Linked DNA regions of Homo sapiens: region 2 is linked to region 1. The links are contacts of gene promoters, found by promoter capture Hi-C in human tissues and cell types (Jung and others, 2019). All regions are on one chromosome and are shown on one strand. The core of a region is centred on a gene start or on the middle of the fragment in contact, and the rest is flanking DNA. Distances in the headings are between cores, read along the strand shown.

Region 1 (4,591 bases), core at 897-3,396:
CTCTGCCCGATATTAGTTTTCAGGCCTTGGAAAAGAAACTACATCTTTTCAAGCCTCAATTTCTACATTGCAAAATGGGTGCAATAATACTGCCTCCCTTGTGAAGTTGGTGTAAAAATTAAAGATGATAACATAATAGCACTAACAAAAAAGTATTATTGTTATTTGTTCTGCTTTTACCCTTTTAAATATACTATAGAATTCTTCTTCTATTTTTAGAAACTTCAGAATATTTGAAGCTAGTTTATTGTTTCCTCTCAGTATTCTCCTATGGCTAAATAGCCTAAGTTCCTAAGTTTTTCCTCGTCAACATAAATTCAAGTTCCTTCTACATCTTAGTTTCTCTCTTTATTTCTTTTTGCATATGTAGTACTAAGAACTGGATGCATCCCTGTAGATTTGGCTTGACAAACTAGTCCTTGAAGTGTGGATGGAATAGGGCAGTGGAGGAAAGATATTCATGCTGGAGAACCGTGTAGTAAGCAAAGGAGAAGTCATAATACATCTGTCATGTTTATCAACAAATGGGCCTCACTGGCTACAAATATAATCATATGGGGGAAAAAGAATTTTAAAGAGGGAGCATTGTGAACTCCTGTAATCATGTGACTATAGATTCTATCCAATGTAATGAAATACCAACATAATTGTCATTAAAGGAGATAGATCTCTCTTTTGAAAGCAAGCAACCACAGTATTTATGTGAGCTACAAGCACAATGTCATAATACATACTATAATCCCTAATCCCTTTTTTCTTTTTTTCTTTTTTTTTTTTTTGAGACGGAGTCTTGCTTTGTCGCCAGGCTGGAGTGGTGCAGTGGCACGATCTCTGCTCACTGCAACCTCCGCCTCCGGCTTCAAGCGATTCCCCTGCCTCAGCCTCCTGAGTAGCTGGGAGTACAGGCACGCGCCACCACGCCCGGCTAATTTTTTCTATTTTAGTAGAGACGGGGTTTCACCATGTTGGCCAGGATGGTCTCGATTTTCTGACCTCGTGATCTGCCCGCCTCGGCCTCCCAAATTGCTGGCATTACTGGCGTGAGCCATCGTGCCCAGCCCATCCATACTATAATCCTTTTTTGCTCCCCTAGAATTGTCCCAACAGGATGCTGGAAAACTGGAGATTATCTGCAAGCTACACATACCCTGGGCTTTCAGTGGCTGTTGGCTATTGCAGTCCACTCTGGTTGAAAGAGGCTGGTGACACAGTTACCTTGTCCTATCCTAAGAGTCACAACTCAGAAGATTCAACCTTCAGATTTCCTTTATTCCTGAGCCCTTTTATTCTGGCCTTCTGGTCTTTCTTCCATTCATTCCATATAGCATAACGCTTAGAATCTGTTGGTGTTCATCCCCCCCCCCCCACCTCTGCTAAGTATTAGTTGTGTGACATTGGGCAAATTATTCTACTTTGTAACTCAGTTTTGCCTTCTGTTAAAATGAGGATTTTTTTTTACAGTACTTTAACAATAAATTGTGACCATTAAATGAGATAATGTATCTATAGTGCTTAGAAGAGAGCCTGGCAATAATAAGCGCTATTTATGTTAACTGTTATTTTGAGTCATTATTATTCATACATTCAACGAATACCACTGTGCTAAATACAGGGGATGTGTTGGTACATCGGACAATCTCTTACCCCTTATGGTCATATTTCTTCTGATTTTGTGAGACACGCAATGACTTTCGAATCTGACTCCTGGATGCAATTTCAGAAGCTGCTGTTGGTAACTGTGGATGAGGCACTTACCCTCTCTGAGCCTGTTTCCACATCTGTAAAATGAGGATTAATAAAATCTACTTGGAAGATTTGTTTTGACTATTAAAAAGACAAAATATGCAAATTATCTGGCACATTTGAAGTCGAATATACTTTCCTTTTCACAGTCTTGTGGCCACACCTGAGGCTAGGGAACTCCACTCTAGGCTTAGAAAACAGTGCTGTCTTCTTAAGTGCTGGGGAGGAGTAAGAGGGTATGGCGGGAACTCATCTGCAGGAAGGGTAAAACCCAGAAGGCGTGGGAGGAGACAGAGACAGGAGGGATGCAGGGACCGCCCCTGGCCTACAACTCCCGGGATGCTCCGGGAGCGCCCCGCCCCGCCCCACCCCGCCCGCCGTGGCGGGCGCTGCCCACCCGGCGGAGCCGAGCGGCGTGCAGAGGCTACAAGTGCCGTAGCTGGTGATTGGGGGACTTTCTCCGGGAACCGTGCCGGGAGAGCGCGCGGTGCTGGAGCCGCACCGGGTGGCCGAAGCAGAAGGTGAGTGGCGGGGAGTGGGATGGGGTGGAGGCTTTGAATGCAAGGGTGAGAGCCCTGGAGCCTAGCAGAGCTGGAGCGCATATCCCCGCTCTCTCTCCTTCGTCTCCGAGTACTAGGCGGACACATCCGTACCTCGAATGCCTCAGTGGGCGCAGAGTTCACCAGAAATGGATAGCCGGATTCCTCGGCGCCTGCTGGGGGCACCGCTGCCAGGTGCTTGGGGCTCGCTCTCCCGGCTTTGCTCGCACAGGGCGCATCCAGAGGTCGCCTCCCCGAGATCAGCCTTGCCTGTGTCAGTTTAAAGCAAATATTAATGCTTTTAATTGATGACAGATGGACGAGGGAAAGTGCGTGTCCCCTCGCTTTAAGGTGCAATGTCGTTAACTGGGCTTTTAAGCAGATCAGAGGAAAAAGAGGGAGAGGACGGAAGAAAAGAGTCTTTAGCTGGTCCCCTGGGATTATCCATTCTCCACTGAGAATGGAAACCCCGGATTAGGGAGCTGCAAAGGAAATCGACTGTGCTGCTAGCATACCTCCGGTAGAACAAGCGAACAAGCGGGAGTAGCTTTTCTTTAAAGAGAGGTAGAGGCGGCCGTAGGGAATTAAGTGGGGATTTCTCTCTTCTTTTGTTATAAACTGAAAGTCTCAAAGAACCCTGCTGATTTTATCCAAGGTAGGCTAGTGTGATGAGTTAATGGTACCAAAGGTTAATCAGAGCCCCTAATGCCTGAGAAAACTGGAAGAAGAGTTATCGGTAATTGATGAAGCCTGTTACCATCACTTCATTCATTGAGGGATCCTTTAGTGGGGGTTTGTTCTAGTTTAGTAGTGATTCTTTTGCCCTGTTGTTTTTTGCTGTTTTCACTGTAGAGAAACTCCGATAACAGGAGAAAAACGTTTTCTGTTTTGCTTTTTTTGTTTTGTTTTAAACAAACTCTTAGGTGTAGCAGAAAACATGTCAATTCCCTCTCCCATATTTTGAGTTGCCAGGTTGACCTTAGGTGACCCTTGCCTGTGTTTCTGTTACCAGCTTTGGAGCTGTGGATTTTGAATTATAAGAAGCCTCAAGCCGTTGGGTTAAATCAATTATCACCCTGGATTTGGAAGCAAAATAAAAGGAGCCTTTGGTTAAAATCTCTAATGATAGTGGAAAGTGAATTTTTATTCCTTAGAAACATGGCAGAGGCAGAGAAAAGCCGATGGTTTTCTGCTCAAACCAAAGTTCTCTCCCAGAAATGCCCCTTGCTGCAGTCGGGGGTGAGGAGTGACATGTTTATAAAATTACAGAGGTAACCTTGGAAATAGCTTCTCACCTATTTGTCTCCACAGAACTCTTACTCTGTGGGTTTATAGTTTGTCTTTTATTATCAGTTCACTTCTAGATTGGGTTTGTAAAACTATCCAGATGGTCAATTTCTTGTGCATTGTGTGATAGCAAAGCATGCAGAGAGGGAGGAACACAGACCCAGGGAACGGGAGTAGCAGATCCTGCAGCTGGAGCAGGCAGGTGTGTGTGTGGAGGAGTGGGTTGGCCCATTGTATTTTGCAGGGATTGCCGTAAGGTCTGTTGCCTGTATGCTTTGGGGTCCAGAACATGCTTCCCCCATGGAGCAGTGAGGGAATAGGGCTAAGTGGAAGCACAGTGAATAAGCAGCATATGGTCTTGTAAATACAGGGCTGTGTCACTAGGGTCATTGGATGTATGAGGTGTAAGCTTAGCAGAGGTGGCTGATTAAGCTGGCCTTTTTCATCTACTTCAGAGCTATGGAATCAAAATGCTGAGTTCCTGCCCAGCTGATAGGGGTGTATAGTCATTCACTGATGGTGATGCTCCAAAGCTAATCTGTATTAGAATTTGCTCTGAACTAGGGAGAGTGTAAACACTTACAATCTTACTGAATTAACAAGTCTATGCTTCCCCAAGTCCTCCAGAAAATCGGCAGCTCTGCTAAAAAGGGCTCTTGCCTTTCTCATTTGTCTTTTTACAGGAAACTTGCCTTCTCGTTTGAGGGATCCTTTTGCAGGAATGCGCGAGTCCTTGAATAAATTTGGCTTGGTGACGGCAGTATTCTTTCTCAGTAGACACTGCCACTTCCTCCACGCACCTTTCTACCCTGACTTAAGTTTCTCAGTGTTAATCACTATGACAAGTGAGAGCATTTGTCCCTTCCACACTTTCCTGCCACTAGGTATCCCCTCCCTTCTTTTGCCTGTTTGAGGTGGAAAAGGGGCTAAACAGGTGCAGCTGTGAAGGAAATGGGGACCCCAGGAGCAACACTCCTGGAAGTACAACCTTAGCTTCTGTTGGGTTCTTATCTAACTCTGTT
Region 2 (4,591 bases), core at 1,474-3,973, 530 kb before region 1:
TGCTTTTGTTTTAGTTTTTACTTTATGTATTTTTAACTATGTTAATTGGTACAAACATTTAGGATTGTTTTATTTATACTGAATTGATTCTTTTAGCATTTTAAAATGTCTCTTTATCTCTAGGTTCTGTGAATATTTTTTGTCTTGAAATCTTCTTTGGTATTAATACAGTTATTTCTGGATTTTTGTAAATTAGTATTTTTCTTCTTATATGCTTTTTCTATTTATCAGTGTTCTTGTTTTTAAAGTATGTGTCATAAAGAGCATATAGTTGGCTCTTGTTTTTTCCATATGACAGTCTTTCTCTTAATTGGAGGGCTTACATTTATACTTAATTTAATCTAGTTCCCAATATTCTTGGGCTAATATTACCATCTTGCTCTTCTCATTATGCCCTGTTTGTTCTTTGTTCCTTGGTGTCTTTGTTCCTACTTTTTTGCAGGAGGAATTAATCACAGTTTTTCTTTTTAAAAAAAATGTCCTTAGAACTCGATTTAATTTCCTCTTTTGGCTTTTTATTTAAACCTGTTTGTATTATTATTTTTTAAATGGTTGATACAGAGGTTATAGTGTTTTCCTTGACTTACCACAGTCTGCCTCTAATTAATATTATTTTACTTTAAAAACAATGTGAAAACTTTACAACAATATAATTCCTTTCACTTACCCTCTCATTGTTTGAGCTAATTTTATCATATGTTTTTCACCTTCATATGCTGGAAACTCCACAATACATTGTTAATATATTTGCTTCAAACAGCCAATAATCTGTTAATAGCTTCCTAAGTACTCTATTCCTTCTAGCCCTCCTGCGCATTGCATCTACAGAGTAGTCTGTCTGATTTGCGTGTTTAATATTATCACTTGCTAAAATTCTTTTAATATTTCCTTCATGGCAAAATCCATGTTTTTAATATGTAATTTAAAAATAGGCAATGTGTTCATGTAATTTAAAAACCAAAAAAGTTATAAAAGGTATTTAGTGAAGCCTCCTTGATCCCATCTTTTATCTATCCTATCTCCAGTATCCATTATTTCCCCTGCAATGTCTTTATTGGTTTTGTGTGTCTTTCCAGATGTGGTAGGTTATTTGTTGTTGTTTTTTGCAAGTATAAACACAAAATGATGTTGCGGGAAGTCAGGGACCCCAAATGGAGGGACCAGCTGAAGCCATGGCAGAAGAACGTAGATTGTGAAGATTTCATGGACATATATTAGCTCCCCAAATTAATACTTTTGTAATTTCTTATGCCTGTCTTTACTGCAATCTCTTAAACATAAATTGTAAAGATTTCATGGACACTTATCACTTCCCCAATCAGTACCCTTGTGATTTCCTATGCTTGTCTTTTCTTTAATCTCTTAATCCTGTCAGCTGAGGAGGATGTCTATCGCCTCAGGACCCTGTAATAATTGCATTAACTGCACAAATTGTACAGCATGTGTGTTTGAGCAATATGAAATGTGGGCACCTTGAAAAAAGAACAGGATAACAGCAATTGTTCAGGGAGTAAGAGAGATAACCTTAAACTCTGACCGCAGGTGAGCTGGGCGGAACAGAGCCATATTTCTCTTCTTTCAAAAGCAAATGGGAGAAATATCGCTGAATTCTTTTTCTCAGCATGGAACATCCCTGAGAAAGAGAATGTGCACCTGGGGGTGGGTCTCTGAACTGGCCCCCCTGGGCATGGTCGTCTCTTATGGTCGAGACTGCAGAGGTGAAATAGATTCCAGTCTCCCATAGTGCTCCCAGGCTTATTAGGAAGAGGAAATTCCTGCCTAATAAATTTTGGTCAGACCGGTTGATCTCAAAACCCTGTCTCCTGATAAGATGTTATCAATGACAATGGTGCCTGAAACTTCATTAGCAATTTTAATTTCGCCCCAGTCCTGTGGTTTTGTGATCTCGCCCTGCCTCTACTTGCCTTGTGATATTCTATTACCTTGTAAACTACTTGATGTCTGTGACCCACACCTATTCGCACACTCCCTCCCCTTTTGAAAATCCCTAATAAAAACTTGCTGGTTTTTGCGGCTAGTGGGGCATCATGGAACCTACTGACATGTGATGTCTCCCCCGGATGCCCGGCTTTAAAATTTCTCTCTTTTGTACTCTGTCCCTTAATTTCTCAAGCTGGCCGATGCTTAGGGAAAATAGAAAAGAACCTAGGTGAATATTGGGGCAGGCTCCCTGATGAAATGATATATATTCTTAAAATAAACTTTTCATCTTTGCATATACGTTTATATGCCGAGTTTTCTCCAACCTTGTCTTACAGCACTTTGTATACTACATTCTAGCCATACTAAACTCTTGCAGTTCCTGAGACATGTGCTGTATCCTATTTCTTCTGGTCCTTTTCTCATTGATTAACTACCTGGAGCATACTTTTAATTCAGTGTCAGTCTGCTTTGCAATCTTTACTTAAGTCCTAGGTAACCATTTTGTCATCTAGCAAGCTTGCCTTGACATCTTACCTCTGTTCCCCTAGGAATATTCACACCATTGGCTCTCAAATCTACATGTGCTGTGAATTTCTTCTATTCTAGAGGTTGATACGCTTTTCTGCACAAGGCCAGCTAATTTAGGCTTTGTGGGCCAGATAGTCTCTTGTTGCTCGCTTTTGCTGTTGTAGTGTGAAATCAGCCATAGACAGTTTATAAGCAAGTGAGTGTGGCCGTGTTCCAATTAACCTTTATTTACAAAAACATAAAATGGGCCGAGCGCGGTGGCTCACGCCTGTAATCCCAGCACTTTGGGAGGCAGAGGCGGGCGGATCATGAGGTTAGGAGATCGAGACCATCCTGGCTGACACGATGAAACCCTGTCTCTACTAAAAATACAAAAAATTAGCCAGGCGTGGTGGCAGGTCCCTGTAGTCCCAGCTACTCAGGAGGCTGAGGCAGGAGAATGGCGTGAACCTGGGAGGCAGAGCTTGCAGTGAGCAGAGCTTGCAGTGAGCCAAGATCGCACCACTGCACTCCAGCCTGGGCCACAGAGCAAGAGTCCGTCTCAAAAAAAAAAAAAAAAACATAAAATGGGCAGGAATTGGCCTGTGGACTATAGTTTGCCACCCACTGGACGAGGCCATGGGTTCTAGCACCCAGCAGAAGGCTTGATCAGTATATTTGTTGAATGGATAATAGCTGTGTAAAGTTCATTATTACTGTTGGGAGTTGGCTTTGGAATAGGGTCTTCCTCCTGTTATTTCTAATCCAAGTGTAGGTATGAGTTCTGTATTGGCAATGCAGTGTTTATCTCAAAATGTTCAGAAAGGAGTTAGACATTTCCTGGTAATAAATATTTTCCTTCAGGTGACTCCTAAAACAGATAGTGTAAAATTCTGATTGTTTCTTGTTGGATCAGAGGAATGCAATCTGGCCTCTTACTCTTAGATATTAGTTGCTTTTTCTTGCTAGCCCCATGTTCTACTAAGGATTACTATCTAGGCCCAATGTGTATAAGCCAACTAAAGTGATAGGACATGCATTTTTATGAGTGGCTATGCTCTGATCTCTCTGATCAAATAAATTTTAATGATCAAATAGATTTTGATGTAGAGTTCTGTGTGTATGTGCATGAAAGTTTTTCCTTAATCCTTTTTGTGTTAACAAATAGGGCATTTGTTGATAGCATTTGCTGTACCATAAAGTTTGCCAATAACATTTATTCTACCAATTTTCTGACTCGAAGTCAGATGACATTATGGTAGATCTGAAAGTGTTAATTTTTGTAGTACCATCCATATTCATAATCTATTTTACTTTTCCATAGATATCTTGTGGCACATGTAATGTAGCTCTAATACGTGTTGTTAGGGAGGTAGGGTAGTTGGTCAAAAGGAAACTAGACATTTAAGACAGACTTACCAAATGAGTTCATTTTAACGTGTTTATTGAAAACCTGCTCTGTGTAGGACACTAATGTATAGGTTGGTGCAAAAATAAAAACTGTTTTACCATTATTTTTAACATGTTCAAGTACTTATACTTCTACATATAAGTTCAGGTAACTTATATGTTATACTTTTTAGGTGCTAATATGAGTGTACAGGTAACTATTACATGGTAATATGTAGCTGACAAAAAGGGTACAGCAGTCTCCATATATCCTTGGCTTCAGTTTCATAGAAAATAAGAATAATGATAAGGTTTTTTAGACGTTAAAGCAAGGTGTGTGAAAATGCTTTGAAAAGTGGAAGGCATTATGCAAATATAAAGAGATATTACTGGCATATGCCTTGGGGTATCACTTTATGGGAGACAAACACTGGCTAGTTTTTTTTGCACATATTCCTTCTTTGAGAGCAGTAGAACTGTATGATAAGAATAAATCATAATGTCAGGTAACTTTTATTGCATAGAGATTATTACATATCAGGAACAATTCTAAACACTTTACACGTACTAACTGTTTAATCCACAGAACAATGGATCCTGTGGATCCTTTCTCATAGGATAATATCCTGATATTATCCTGATATACCAGATACTATTATTATCCACATCTTACAGTTGAGGAAACTGAGGCATAGGATGTTTGTAAGAGTCTGGATTTAAACTCATTTATTCCAGAATGCCACAGTGCTCT

Evidence for each region. Contacts are between HindIII fragments. The study calls those that stand out against the background at their distance.
Region 2: a fragment that was not itself captured here is called in contact with the fragment with the promoter of TMEM74 in region 1 in 1 of the 25 tissues and cell types used here (mesendoderm cells).

The regions. Positions count from the first base shown.
Region 1 is chr8:108,785,149-108,789,739 of GRCh38, reverse strand. It overlaps TMEM74 (transmembrane protein 74), which reads left to right and starts at 2,146. Exons shown (of 2, transcript NM_153015.3): 1 at 2,146-2,264. RefSeq lists silencers at 2,031-2,210, 2,626-2,920. The HindIII fragment of the contact is 13,104 bases long and covers 1-4,591 here.
Region 2 is chr8:109,317,400-109,321,990 of GRCh38, reverse strand. The region is part of intron 2 of NUDCD1 (NudC domain containing 1); the gene reads left to right. Among named protein-coding and RNA genes, the nearest start is that of NUDCD1, 14 kb to the left of the region's middle. RefSeq lists an enhancer at 1,467-2,114. The HindIII fragment of the contact is 4,606 bases long and covers 421-4,591 here.